Regions from separate parts of the Homo sapiens genome. Here region 1 is linked to region 2. The links are contacts of gene promoters, found by promoter capture Hi-C in blood cells and fetal thymus (Javierre and others, 2016). All regions are on one chromosome and are shown on one strand. The core of a region is centred on a gene start or on the middle of the fragment in contact, and the rest is flanking DNA. Distances in the headings are between cores, read along the strand shown. Region 1 holds the start of RARA (retinoic acid receptor alpha). Region 2 has its middle 3.5 kb from the start of EIF1.

Evidence for each region. Contacts are between HindIII fragments. The CHiCAGO score rates a contact against its expected background, and 5 or more counts as called.
Region 1: the fragment with the promoter of RARA here is called in contact with a fragment that was not itself captured in region 2 in 2 of 17 cell types (M0 macrophages and M1 macrophages); the score reaches 8.4 in M0 macrophages.

What each region holds. Positions count from the first base shown.
Region 1 is chr17:40,306,849-40,313,007 of GRCh38, reverse strand. RARA (retinoic acid receptor alpha) reads right to left here and starts at 3,828. Exons shown (of 9, transcript NM_000964.4): 1 at 3,722-3,828. RefSeq lists enhancers at 542-1,042, 2,632-3,515, 3,827-3,956, 3,967-4,136, 3,516-4,401. The HindIII fragment of the contact is 5,393 bases long and covers 3,028-6,159 here.
Region 2 is chr17:41,682,714-41,688,145 of GRCh38, reverse strand. No RefSeq gene overlaps it. Among named protein-coding and RNA genes, the nearest start is that of EIF1, 3.5 kb to the left of the region's middle. The HindIII fragment of the contact is 6,365 bases long and covers 1-5,432 here.

The DNA of each region.
Region 1 (6,159 bases), core at 2,579-5,078, 1.4 Mb after region 2:
TTTCAGAGACCCTGCACAAAAAAGCAGATGGGAAAATGGACCAGGTGTGCCTGGCTCGTGGTCCTCCTTGCTGCAGTAGGGAAGGGAAGCACACTGAGCTGTGGTGAGGAACCATGACAACAGAAAAATGGTGCAAAGGGAGGGCCTGGGTTCAGGTCTCAACACAGCCAATGACTGATTGAGTGTTCTCTCTAGGCCTCAGTTTCCTTCTCTGCAAGGGGAAGGGATTGCCTAGGTAGCCTCTAAAACCCCTTCCAGCTCTGAGTCCAGCTGGATAAAGAAAACCCTGTAGGGTGCCAGGACTCTTCCACCCAGTCCAGCCCGGCCCATCTACCTGGGTCATGCCCCTCTGGGTAAGGTCCTGCCCCTGCTCCCCATGCCTCCTTGCTGTCTTCTGCCCCTCTGGCCCTTCCTCACTCCTCTGCCTGCCTGCTTACCCTCACCTTGGCCAGCCCCTCTGCCTGCCCCGTGCTTTTCTGCACGTCCCTCCTGCCAGGGGACTGACCAACTAAAAATAGTCCCTGCAGCCTTTCTCGCCCACAGCTGCCCAAAGAGCAGGAAATGAGGGGGGCAGGGAGGCCCATGCCCTGCCTTACCCCCACTAACTCCCAGGTCAGAATCATGTCCAGCACTCCAGCCTGGGGCTAGCGCCAACTTGGCCATCCTGGGGGCATCCCACACCCCTTTCCTAGGGGGAGGCCTGCCCATAAGTGCCTGCAATCACAGAGCTGCCCCTACCCTGCGGGAGGAGGAGAAAGGAGGCAAGCGGTCTAGAGGGAAACCTTCCCAATTTCTGACAAATCAGTGCCAACCACATTGTGGGCACCCAAAGGGCAGGGCCTGGCTCCACTGACTGGTCTTTTGAGGGCAGAAGGAATTGGCTTGGGGAAGTTTGTGACAGTCTCCTTCATCCTGGCCCAACTGGAGGGAAGACAAAATAGTGCCCCAGCCTCAATTATGTTAGTCCCTTGCTCCCCAAAACCAGGGATTTCACTAGCCACCTGCAGATATCATGGGGAAAAAAACTAAAAAATGAGAGCAGGAGATGTAGGCTTCTGTAAAGAGAGAAGCCTGGAGGCAAGAATAGGCCATGCCTGCCAGGCTGGGCATGTGCTGCCCCCAAGCTGAGTCAGAGGCTAGGAGGGAGAAGCTGGGGTGCTACAGTGCCAGAGGCTACTGTGCCCCCACCCCTGTCCCACCTGGGATTCCTGACACCTCCCAGCCCTAGGGGAAGGCCCTCCCCACAAAGGAGGAAGGAAACCAGCTAAGCGACTCTCTGGAGCCCTGCAGGGGAGCCCTGCACCACAGGCAGGGAAACCCAGGAGTCCTGGCGCCCAGCCCAGAGACAGTGAAATATCTTGGAGGGGAGGAAACAGCCCAGATTGAGGCAGACATGTGGCACCCCCAGAAGCTCCCAGATGTGACCTACTGGCCAAAGGGGCTAGATGAGGCAAAGTGAAACATTTCTGAACAAGAAGAGAGAAGAAAGTGGGGCTATGGGAATGGGGTGGCGGGGGTCAGCCTGGCTCATCGCTGTCCTTTCCTCCTTGTCAGAGTCAGTGACACTGACATTAAGGTCATCGAATATCAACCAGGTCCTGAGGACCTTGGTGTGTTTCCTCCTCTCCTAGTCTCCAGACCCCAGCCTGTTCATTCCTGAGCTTCCTCTGGCACCCCTTCCTTGGGGCCAAGCCAAGTAAGAAATCAGCAGGCCCAAGGTGGTGCTTGGGAGGCCGGGGCAGTGCCAGGGGCAGTCCTCATACCATCCTCCCACTGGCTTCCCTCCTGCCTGCTCTTAGCCGCCACACATATCTCAGCTGTCGAATCCGATTAGGGCTCCTGCCCAGTGAGCCAGACAAGGAGGCCACTGGGCAGGGGAGAGAGAGACAAGGACGCCAAGCAGGGATGGCAGAAGGAAGGTGGAGACATGGCTCAGGGGAGCAAGTATGGGGCCCCAGAGGAAGAAATGCCTGGTGGAGAGATCTGTACTCTGTGACCACAGGTGCTCTGGTAACAGCTACAACCTGCATTAGGGGAATTCTGCAGTAACCGGGGCAATAGCCCTGCCTAGTTCCTCCATCCCCCAGATGGGCAAAGGATGGGGGAAGAAAACTAAAGGCGGAGAGATTGACCTAGATTTAGGAAGAGGATTCCATCCTAGATTCCCCCAGCCATTACTACCGTTTGCAGTGAGCTTTACGATACATTGTCTCTGTGGTTTTAGTGGCAATGTCCCTGCTTGCTACTGATAGCCATTTTTACAAATGGAGAAACTAAGGCTTAGCAAAGGGGAAGACCTATATAAACACATATAGTTAAGTAACCAGTCTAAGTCTCCAGTTCAGGCCTCTGATTCCTAGTTCACTGCTCACAGTCAGAATCTCTACTTTCCTTGTTGGATCAAGACCAGAACGAAGTCTGAAGCCAATTCATTATCCACCCTGTCCTCTAAAACCAACCTTTAGGGGACCCGGGGAGCCATGGAAGAATGCAGAGCACACCCCACACCTAGACAGAGCTACCAGATGGGGACATGCCACCCATTCCTATCATACATTGATTGCTAGAGGAGTTCCCTCAGTGTGACCAGTCTCTTCTATCACCCCCCTCCCCAGTCTACTACCCCCAGAAGCAAGACACACACTCACACATGGTAAGTCAGACAAGGTGTACACCCTTCCTGTAAACCCACCAAACCAGAATGACACGCCCTAGATCTTCAGAGAGCAGGGCCTGTCTGCCCACCACAGGAGAGAAAAATAAGCCACTGTAAACAGTAGGTGCCATCTAGCCCTCTCCCAGAGAGCCTGTAGCGGGGCAGAAGCTTGGGGACCTTGTAGCTCTAGAGAAACACCAGGAGCCTGAGATTCTGAAAGCCAAGAAGCTCAGGGAGCTGGCAAGGCTGGGTGACCTCCTCAATCTGGTCCACACCCCCTTCCCTAGCCATCTGGACTGAGCCTGTTCTGGCCTGGGCCACACTCTGGTATCCCTCCCCTTCAATGCATGCAGCCACCTCTATCCAAAGCTTCTAGATCTTACAACCACATTGTCCCTACACACACACACACACAGGTGGGGTCGGGGGGCTTCTGCAGCAGGTGTTGAAATGTTGACATGGATGGGGGCTCTAAGCTGAAAGAACTTTCCTAGAGGAAAAGCTCACCAAAATGCTCACAACCTCCACTACCCTCTAGCAAAGCCTTTAGCCACCCAAGTGTGAGATGAACCTGGAAGGGGACATTAGTTCCCCTACAAGGTGTGTAGGGAGTAGGGGCAAAGTCCTGAGCTCTTTGGGTGAGGAAGCAAGAAAGAAATCCCTTGGGAAAGCTCAGGTCCCTCTCTGGCTCTCTCCTCTCTCTGTTACCTCAGCACTTGCCAATTCTCCAGTCTAGGTGAGGTGGGGGAAGGGGTATTAGGCAATACCGCAAAGGAGGGTGCAAGGGCGTGGGGCCTGGGCAGACCTTCCCCCTACTCCCCACTCTTATCTAGAGAACGGGAACTGCCTCAGGAGAAATGCAGGAAGGGTGCTGGAGGGTGCAGAGGGCTCTGAGCTTTCAGACACCCCACTGTTCCCAGGCTCCCACCTCCCAGGACTACAGTGAGCGACGGGAGAGGAGGGATGGGGAAAGCCAGAACTGGCGAGAAGGAAATGGCTAGATCAGAAGCAGAGGCCGGGGTCAAAGGCGGCCAAAGAATTGGGAAGGGGTGTGCATGGTCCTACCTGCTCAGGTGTGTGCTGGCAGGGGGCCGATGGGGTTCCCAGGAGAACCGGGGAAGCCCTCTCAGCTCGATTCAGGATTCCCCCCTGCTTCTGGGTTAGGCTGCTGCAAGAGGCACGGGTTCCCGTTGGGTCCTAAAGCCCACTCGCCAACTAGAAGGCTCTCCCCGCCCTCTTCCACCAGCCAGCCCCGACTGGGTCAGCGGGCGCAGAGCGAAGGACTGATGGGGGAGAAGTAACCCACTGGAAGAAAGATGGGCGTCTGGTCATCGGCTGGGGACAGGAACAGTTCCCTGTCTCAAATACACAGCATATGGATAACTCGAGGATAGGATGACCTGAAACAGGAGAAAATAGACATTTCTTCCTGCCTGCCCTGAGCAGATGGATTTAGGTTTTGGTGCTGGAGGTGGGGTTAAGATCTCTTTCCCTGCCACTCCTGCTAAGGCATTCAGCTAGAGATTTTGGAAAGGGAGCATTCATTTTGGTTGGGCGCTCACTTCTGTCCTCTTCCTCATGGACTGCAGGAGTCCCTTCATCCCTCCCAATTATTCCCAAGGACCTAGGAGGCCATAGAGGGTGAAAAAAGATTTTCAGCATGTAAAAAGTGCAGGCTCACTTAGATGGCAGCTGGAAACAGGGGAAACATGTAGGACCAATGTATGTGTATCTGGGAATGTGTGGGGTCTGCAAATACACATATATAGGCAAGAGTATAAACAGGTGGGGTTAGGGAAGGAGAAAAAAACAAAAAAGAACTTTGGGTTACACCTATTACTGGAAATGGTAATTGTCAGTGGAAGAACAGGACGTAGAACCTAGAGGTCAACTAGTGCCCCTACCCAGCCCTCAGTAATGTCCCGAATCTTTATGACCAGAATAAACAAGTTAAAGAGAGAATATTTTCCTAGATACCATTTAGGATAAATATAGGGGCAGAGGGACCTCAATACAACAGATCAACTTCAAGGTCACTGATTCAGTTTAGTATAGCCAGTCTTCTCAGTAGCTCAAAAGGGAGAATTCAGGTTTGGTGGGCTAGATGGGCAAGAGAAAGCTGGATAAGAATTCTGAAGTTGTGGATTGAGAACATTTTGCAAGGAGAGTTGCACATATCTCTAGCAGCAGAGCAGGGAAAACGTCATGAGGGGAAGGGCCAGAGGAAGTCAGCGACAGACTTGAGGGGAGAGGGCATGGCCTCTCCCTAGAAGGGGAGAAGACACCAGCAATGCCTCCACCTCTGTCTTGCAGGAAGAACTGAGTAAAGGAGCTGGACTAAGGATGGAAGGCCCCAGGGTGGAGTCCATGGGGTGAGTTTAGGTCAAACCTTTCACCCTAATGTGCCTCAGTTCTCTCCCAGCTGTTAAACAGGGCTCTTCGTTCTTCCCAGGCAGTTAATGAGTGTTTACAAAAGGGTTTGGAGATCCTCAGATCTCAGCTGGGCCACCACTACAGTTATAAAGTTCAATAAGAGCTGAGTGTTATTTGGGGAGGAGAGGAGTAGGGGAAGGAAACAGATACTCTCTTATAAACTAAGGATAAAACTAAGCTCAGAGAGAAGCACAAGCCTAGCTGCCACAGGATATCCTTGTGCCCATGGATGGAGGTCACCCCACCCCCCCATCAACCACCACCAAAGGCTGGCCTCCAGCTAGCTGTAGGCAGAACCCAGACTAGCAGCTGGTCTTCATTAACTCCAGCTTTTTCACCCCCCACTGTGAACCCACAGCTTCTACAGGCCTAGGCTAGAGGGGGCTGCCCTAGCCCGACCTTGCAGCTGACACTGGGGTGGGGGGCACCGCACCAAAGGCCAAGTTACCAGCTGAAAAGAAAGTTGAAGCAAGAGTCCTTTTTCCCATTGGGAGCAAGAAGAAAGCAGTGTGGGGGTGAGAGGGTGGAGGTGGGGGAATTTAGGGCAAACAGCAGGCAGTGAAGTCAGCTGGATTGAGGCCCAGAAACCCCCACACCCTGGGGCCAAGTCTTACTCTAGCTTTGCTTTCAGCTTAAGTCTTGGCGAGGCCCCAAACTAGGGAAGGCCCTGGTTGCCCCTTTCCGCCTCCCTACCCCCACCCTTATTAAATACACATTTTATCTCTCAGCATCTTCATTATCTTAACTGAAGGAGACAAGCAGTGGATGGCGGCAGCAGAGAGCGTCAGGAGCGGGGGGCGGTGCGGGGAGCAGGCGCACCCTTGTTATAAAGTGCTGATCTAGCTCTTTCAGGCAGTGTGGGAAACAGAGGAGGGATCAAAGGGAGTGAGGCTGATTCAGAACTCAATTAGAGCTTTTTAAAAAACGAAGCTGGCTCTCTCCTTTCACCAGTCTTCAGCCTTTACCCAAGCCCCTTGCACCCAATTAACTTCCACTACCAGTGCCTTGGGGCTGGGGTTGAAAATCAAGGGGAGGCCAGAGGGCACACCTTCTCCCCTTACGGAACACAC
Region 2 (5,432 bases), core at 1,415-3,914:
ACAGCTTGTGTGGAGTAGAGCCTTCCTAGAGTTTAGATGAAATATTTCCTTCAAAACAGTCAACCTTTCTTGCTTTCAGTTTATTTATTTCAACACTCAGTTGTAGGGGTAAGTAGAGTGGTGAAAAGAGACCAGGAATTTTAGACTCAAAGGCCTCCGGGGATAGGCAGGTAAGTAGGATCAAGGAGTGCAAACAGCCAAGTGTGATGTAATGGGGTGGACTGGGGGCTGGAGTAAGAACTACGGGCTGCAGTGGCCGCTCACCTCCAGCCCATTGTGCTAGATCTTTTTCAAGAGTGCCAGGAAATCCAGGTGTTTACATAAAATCTCTTGATTTTTAAATATTGCCAATAAATTGATTTTTTTTTTGAGACAGAGTCTCACTTTGTCGCCGAGGCTGGAGTGCAGTGGCACTGTGTCGGCTCACTGTAACCTCCGTCTCCTGGGTTCAAGCAATTCTTCTGCCTCAGCCTCCCGAGTAGTTGGGGTTACAGGCATCCACCACCACGCCCGGCTAGTTTTTTAAAAATATTTTTAGTAGAGATGGGTTTTCACCATGTTGGCCAGGCTGGTCTTGAACTCCTGACCTCAGGTGATCTGCCTGCCTCGGCCTTCCAAAGTGCTGGGATTACAGGAATAAATTGAATTTTTGATACAACACTGCAAGCCAAACAAAAATATGCATGCCCATGGACTGCTGGTTTATGTCCCTGACAGTCAGGGTCACTGCCCTTGTGGAGTTGAAGGCCAGCGGGAGAGAGAGCCACTAAACAAATAATAAGATAATGAGGCTGGGCGCTGTGGCTTATGCCTGTAATCCCAGCACTTTGGGAGGCTGAGGTGGGCGGATCACCCGAGGTCAGGAGTTCGAGACCAGCCTGGCCAATATGGTGAAACCCTGTCTCTACTAAAAATACAAAAATTAGCTGGGCGTGGTGGCGTGTGCCTGTAGTCCCAGCTACTCGGGAGGCCGAGGCACAATAATTATTTGAACCCGGGAAGAGGAGACTGCAGTGAGCCAAGATGGCGCCATTGCACTCCAGCCTGGGCGACAGAGCAAGACTATGTCTCAAAAAAAAAAAAAAAAGGATAATGACAGATTGTGAGAGGTGCCAAAAAGGAGGTAAACAGGGTGATGTGAAAGGGCCAGGCTCCTTCAGATGGGGTGGTCAGAGAAGGCCTCTGGGGAGGCAGCATTCTGGCTGACAGAGGGTAGGAAGGAGTCCACTGTGGGGCAGGGCATGTGCCCACCAGAAAACTCAGAAAAACTCTGAGGGAGGAAATGCTAGGTGTACCTGATATATATATGTGTATGTGTGTGTATATATATATATATGTATATGAGTGTGTGTATATATGTGTGTGTGTGTATTTGTGTATATATGTATATATATATGTATGTGTATATATATATATATATAGACAAGGTCTCACTCTGTCACCCAGACTGGCTGGAATGCAGTGGCATGATCATGGCTTACTGCAGCCTCAACTGCTTAAAGCAGTCCCCCTGCCTTGGCCTCCTAAAGTGCTGGGATTACAGGCAGGAGCCAGTGTGCCTGGCCTGATACTTTGTTTTGATTCTATATTTACTAAATAAACTTGATTAATAGTTTGGTTTCCTTGACATCAGGAAGGAGGAACCATGGCTAGGTCATGGGCATCCCAGTCTCATGGTCTTCCCCTTTTGAGAAGCTAAGGCCCCAGTCAGCCAACTTGGGAACCTTTACTATCAGGCAAAATTCACCCCCGACATTTCACGTAGGTTCTTCTCTATTTTCCTTAAGTGTTGGCTGGTCCGAGAAATAAAGGGACAGAGTACAAAAGAGAGAAATTTTAAAGCTGGGTGTCCGGGGGAGACATCACATGTCGGCAGGTTCCATGATGTCCCCCAAGCCGCAAAACCAGCGAGTTTTTATTAGTGATTTTCAAAAGGGGAGGGAGTGTACGAATAGGGTGTGGGTCACAGAGATCATGTGCTTCACAAGGTAATAAGATATCACAAGGCAAATGGAGGCAGGGCAAGACCACAGGACCACAGGACCGGGGCGAAATTAAAATTGCTAATGAAGTTTCAGACACACATTGTCATTGATGATATCTTATCAGGAGACAGGGTTTGAGAACAGACAACCGGTCTGACCAAAATTTATTAGGCGGGAATTTCCTCGTCCTAATAAGCCTGGGAGCGCTACAGGAGACCGGGGCTTATTTCATCCCTCAGCGATGACCGTAAAAGACAGCTGTCCCCAAAGTGGCCATTTCAGAGGCCTCCCTCAGGGACGCATCCTCTTTCTCAGGGATGTTCCTTGCTGAGAAAAAGAATTCAGCGATATTTCTCCCATTTGCTTTTGAAAGAAGAGAAATATGGCTCTGTTCTGCCCGGCTCACGGGCAGTCAGAGTTTAAAGTTATCTCCTTTGTTCCCTGAACATTGCTGTTATCCTGTTCTTTTTTCAAGGTGCCCAGATTTCATATTGTTCAAACACACAAGCTCTACAAACAATTTGTGCAGTTAATGCAATCATCACGGTCCTGAGGCTACATACATCCTCCTCAGCTTATGATGACAGGATTAAGAGATTAAAGTAAAGACAGGCATAGGAAATCCCAAGGGTATTGATTGGGGAAGTGATAAGTGTCCATGAAATCTTCACAATTTATGTTCAGAGATTGCAGTAAAGACAGGCGTAAGAAATTATAAAAGTATTAATTTGGGGAACTAATAAATATCCATTAAATCTTCACAATTTATGTTCTTCTGCCATGGCTTCAGCGGGTCCCTCTGTTGGGAGTCCCTGACATCCCACAACACTTTGCCCTGACGGACATTGTTCTGCTGGAAAGGGTTTTGGGAGAGAGTTTGAATGAATGAATTGGAGCTGTCCTTCCCAGTGTGCATGCAATATTTTGTCACACTAAAATATTTTTTGAGACAGAATCTCGCTTTGTCGTCCAGGCTGTAGTGAAGTGGTGCGATCTTGGCTCACCACAGCTTTCACCTCCTGAGTTCAAGCTATGCTTCTGCCTCAGCCTCCCAAGTAACTGAGATTACGGGCAGGTGCCACCATGCCCAGCTAATTTTTGTATTTTGGGTAGAGAAGGGGTTTTACAACATTGCCCAGGCTGGTCTTGAACTCCTGACCTCAAATGATCCGCCCGCCTTGGCCTCCCAAAGTGCTGGGATTACAGGTGTGAGCCACAACACCCGGCCAAGACTCAGTTCTTTTTTTTTTTTTTTTTTTGAGACAGGGTCTGGCTTTGTCACTTAGGCTGGAGTGCAATGGTGCCATTATAGCTTATTGCAGACTTGAACTCCTAGGCTCAAGTGATCCGTTTCAGCCTCCTGAGTAGCTGGGACTACAGGCATGTGCTACCATAGCCAGCTAATTTTTTAAATTTTTGGTAGAGATGAGGTCTCACTATGTTGCCCAGGCTGGTCTTGAACTGCTAGGCTCAAGTAATCCTTTACCTCGGCCTCCCAAAGTGCTGGGATTACAAGCATGAGCCACCGCACCAGGCCTGAGACTCAGTTCTTGACTTGCCACCAGCTTTGTGGGTGACCTGGTTTACCTCTTGGCTTCAGTTGTATGCCCCATAAAAGGAGCACTGGGTGATCTCTTCCTGGGTCTGAAGTCTGAAGCGCTGTTTTCCCAAGTTGGGAGCATTTCCAGAAGGGTCTTCCGAAGTCTACCTTCCAGTGTGGGAGGTTACCCCAGCCCCAGGAGCCTGAGGAGTAATCATGGAGGCAGGAGTAATTAGTTTGAAAGTGGCATGCATGCCTGCTGTTAATGCTGGCTTCTTTATTAGTGTGCTCCTGGCTTTGAGATGCTGTCACCTGGGCAGCCAAGGGCAGGGTACAAAGCACAGGCTCTGGAGTGTCTGTATCTGAATATCATCTCCATCTTGTTGCCTGGGCGACTTAGCCCCTCCCAGCCTGCATTTTCTCCTCTGTACGACAGAGACAATAATGCCCTTCTCATAGGCTGTTGAGGGGATTTAAAGAGGAGACTATGTACAGCCGGATAAAAATGTAAAGTTATGAAACCACTATATAGATTATACCAGTTTCCCAGAGGGGAAGGGAGAGAGAGAGCCTCCGAGAGCAGCAGGGGACAGGAGTGAGCCCCTCTGAATGAGGATGGGACAGAGGTGGGCACCTCTCCATGGTGATCTCCTTGGGATGTGACAAGGGCATGGCTGTGTAGGACACCTTGGGACCCTCGACCTCAATAAGATTCTCCAAGGCCACCAACGTGGCACGGAAGCAGCAGAATCTCCCTCCAGGAAGGGATTGCACCCTCTGGGAAAATAGACATCTCCATGGTAACCAAGGCAGATAGATGATCTGGTCTAGGGGCTCCTTGTAGCTCTGGTGCTCTAGAAAACCTTGTGAGCGAGAGAGAATCCTGGGGAGGGCTGGAGCCCCTGTCATTTCCAAGGCTGGATTTCTGAGCAGCCCAGTGGGATGTTAATTGGCAAGGATCTCACTTGATTTAAAGAAAGTCCAATTAATGCCACATTTCTTGCATTCCTTATTTGGGACTTAACGACCCACGTATGTAAGTGACTAGAATAGTTCCCCCTCCCCCGCTCCCATGCACATAGAAGGTCCCAGTGAATGAAGGCTGCTGTTCTTACCACTTGGAGAAGGAGGGAGACCCGGGCCTGTTGCAGCTTGATCTGCAGCCTGCACAGGGTAATGATGAGATGTGCAGGTCGGGCATCAGCTGGGGTTCTGCTGGCAATACATCAATTCTTCAAACCTGCCTAGGGTAGATGCTGGGAAGGGACATGGGGGAAACTTTTTTTTTTTTCTTTTTTGAGATGATATCTCACTCTGTCTCCCAGGCTGGAGTGTAGTGGTGCGATCTTGGCTCACTGGAACATCCGCCTTCCGGGTTCAAGTGATCCTCCCGCTTCAGCCTCCCAAGTAGCTGGCATTACAGGCACCCACCACCACGCCTTGCAAATTTTTGTATTTTTAGTAGAGATGGGGTTTCACCATGTTGGTCAGGCTGGTCTCGAACTCCTGACCTCAAGTGATCTGCCTGCCTTGGCCTCCCAAAGTGTTGGGATTACAGGCGTGAGCCACTGCGCCACGCCCGGCCTGACATGGGGGAACCTTATGGGGTGCTGGAAATGACCTTCCTCTTGATCCAGGTGGCAAAAATCTATTGAGCTGTACCCTTATGGCTAGTGTGTGTTGTGTGTGTATGGCGGTTATATTTTACCGCCACCTCCCAACCCGGCCAGCCTTTCTTCTTGTTCTTACTTTCCCTCCCCTTGCCAGGGACCCACTTATGCCAACCCACGGTGGGGACTTGGCTCAGTTCCTCTTTGCCTCTTTGCTGGCAGAGCATCTGTCTTCCCCATCCTGCTTCCCACTCCTTCCCCTCCTCTCTTTCCTCCTTTTTCAGGGAGTCCTGCAGG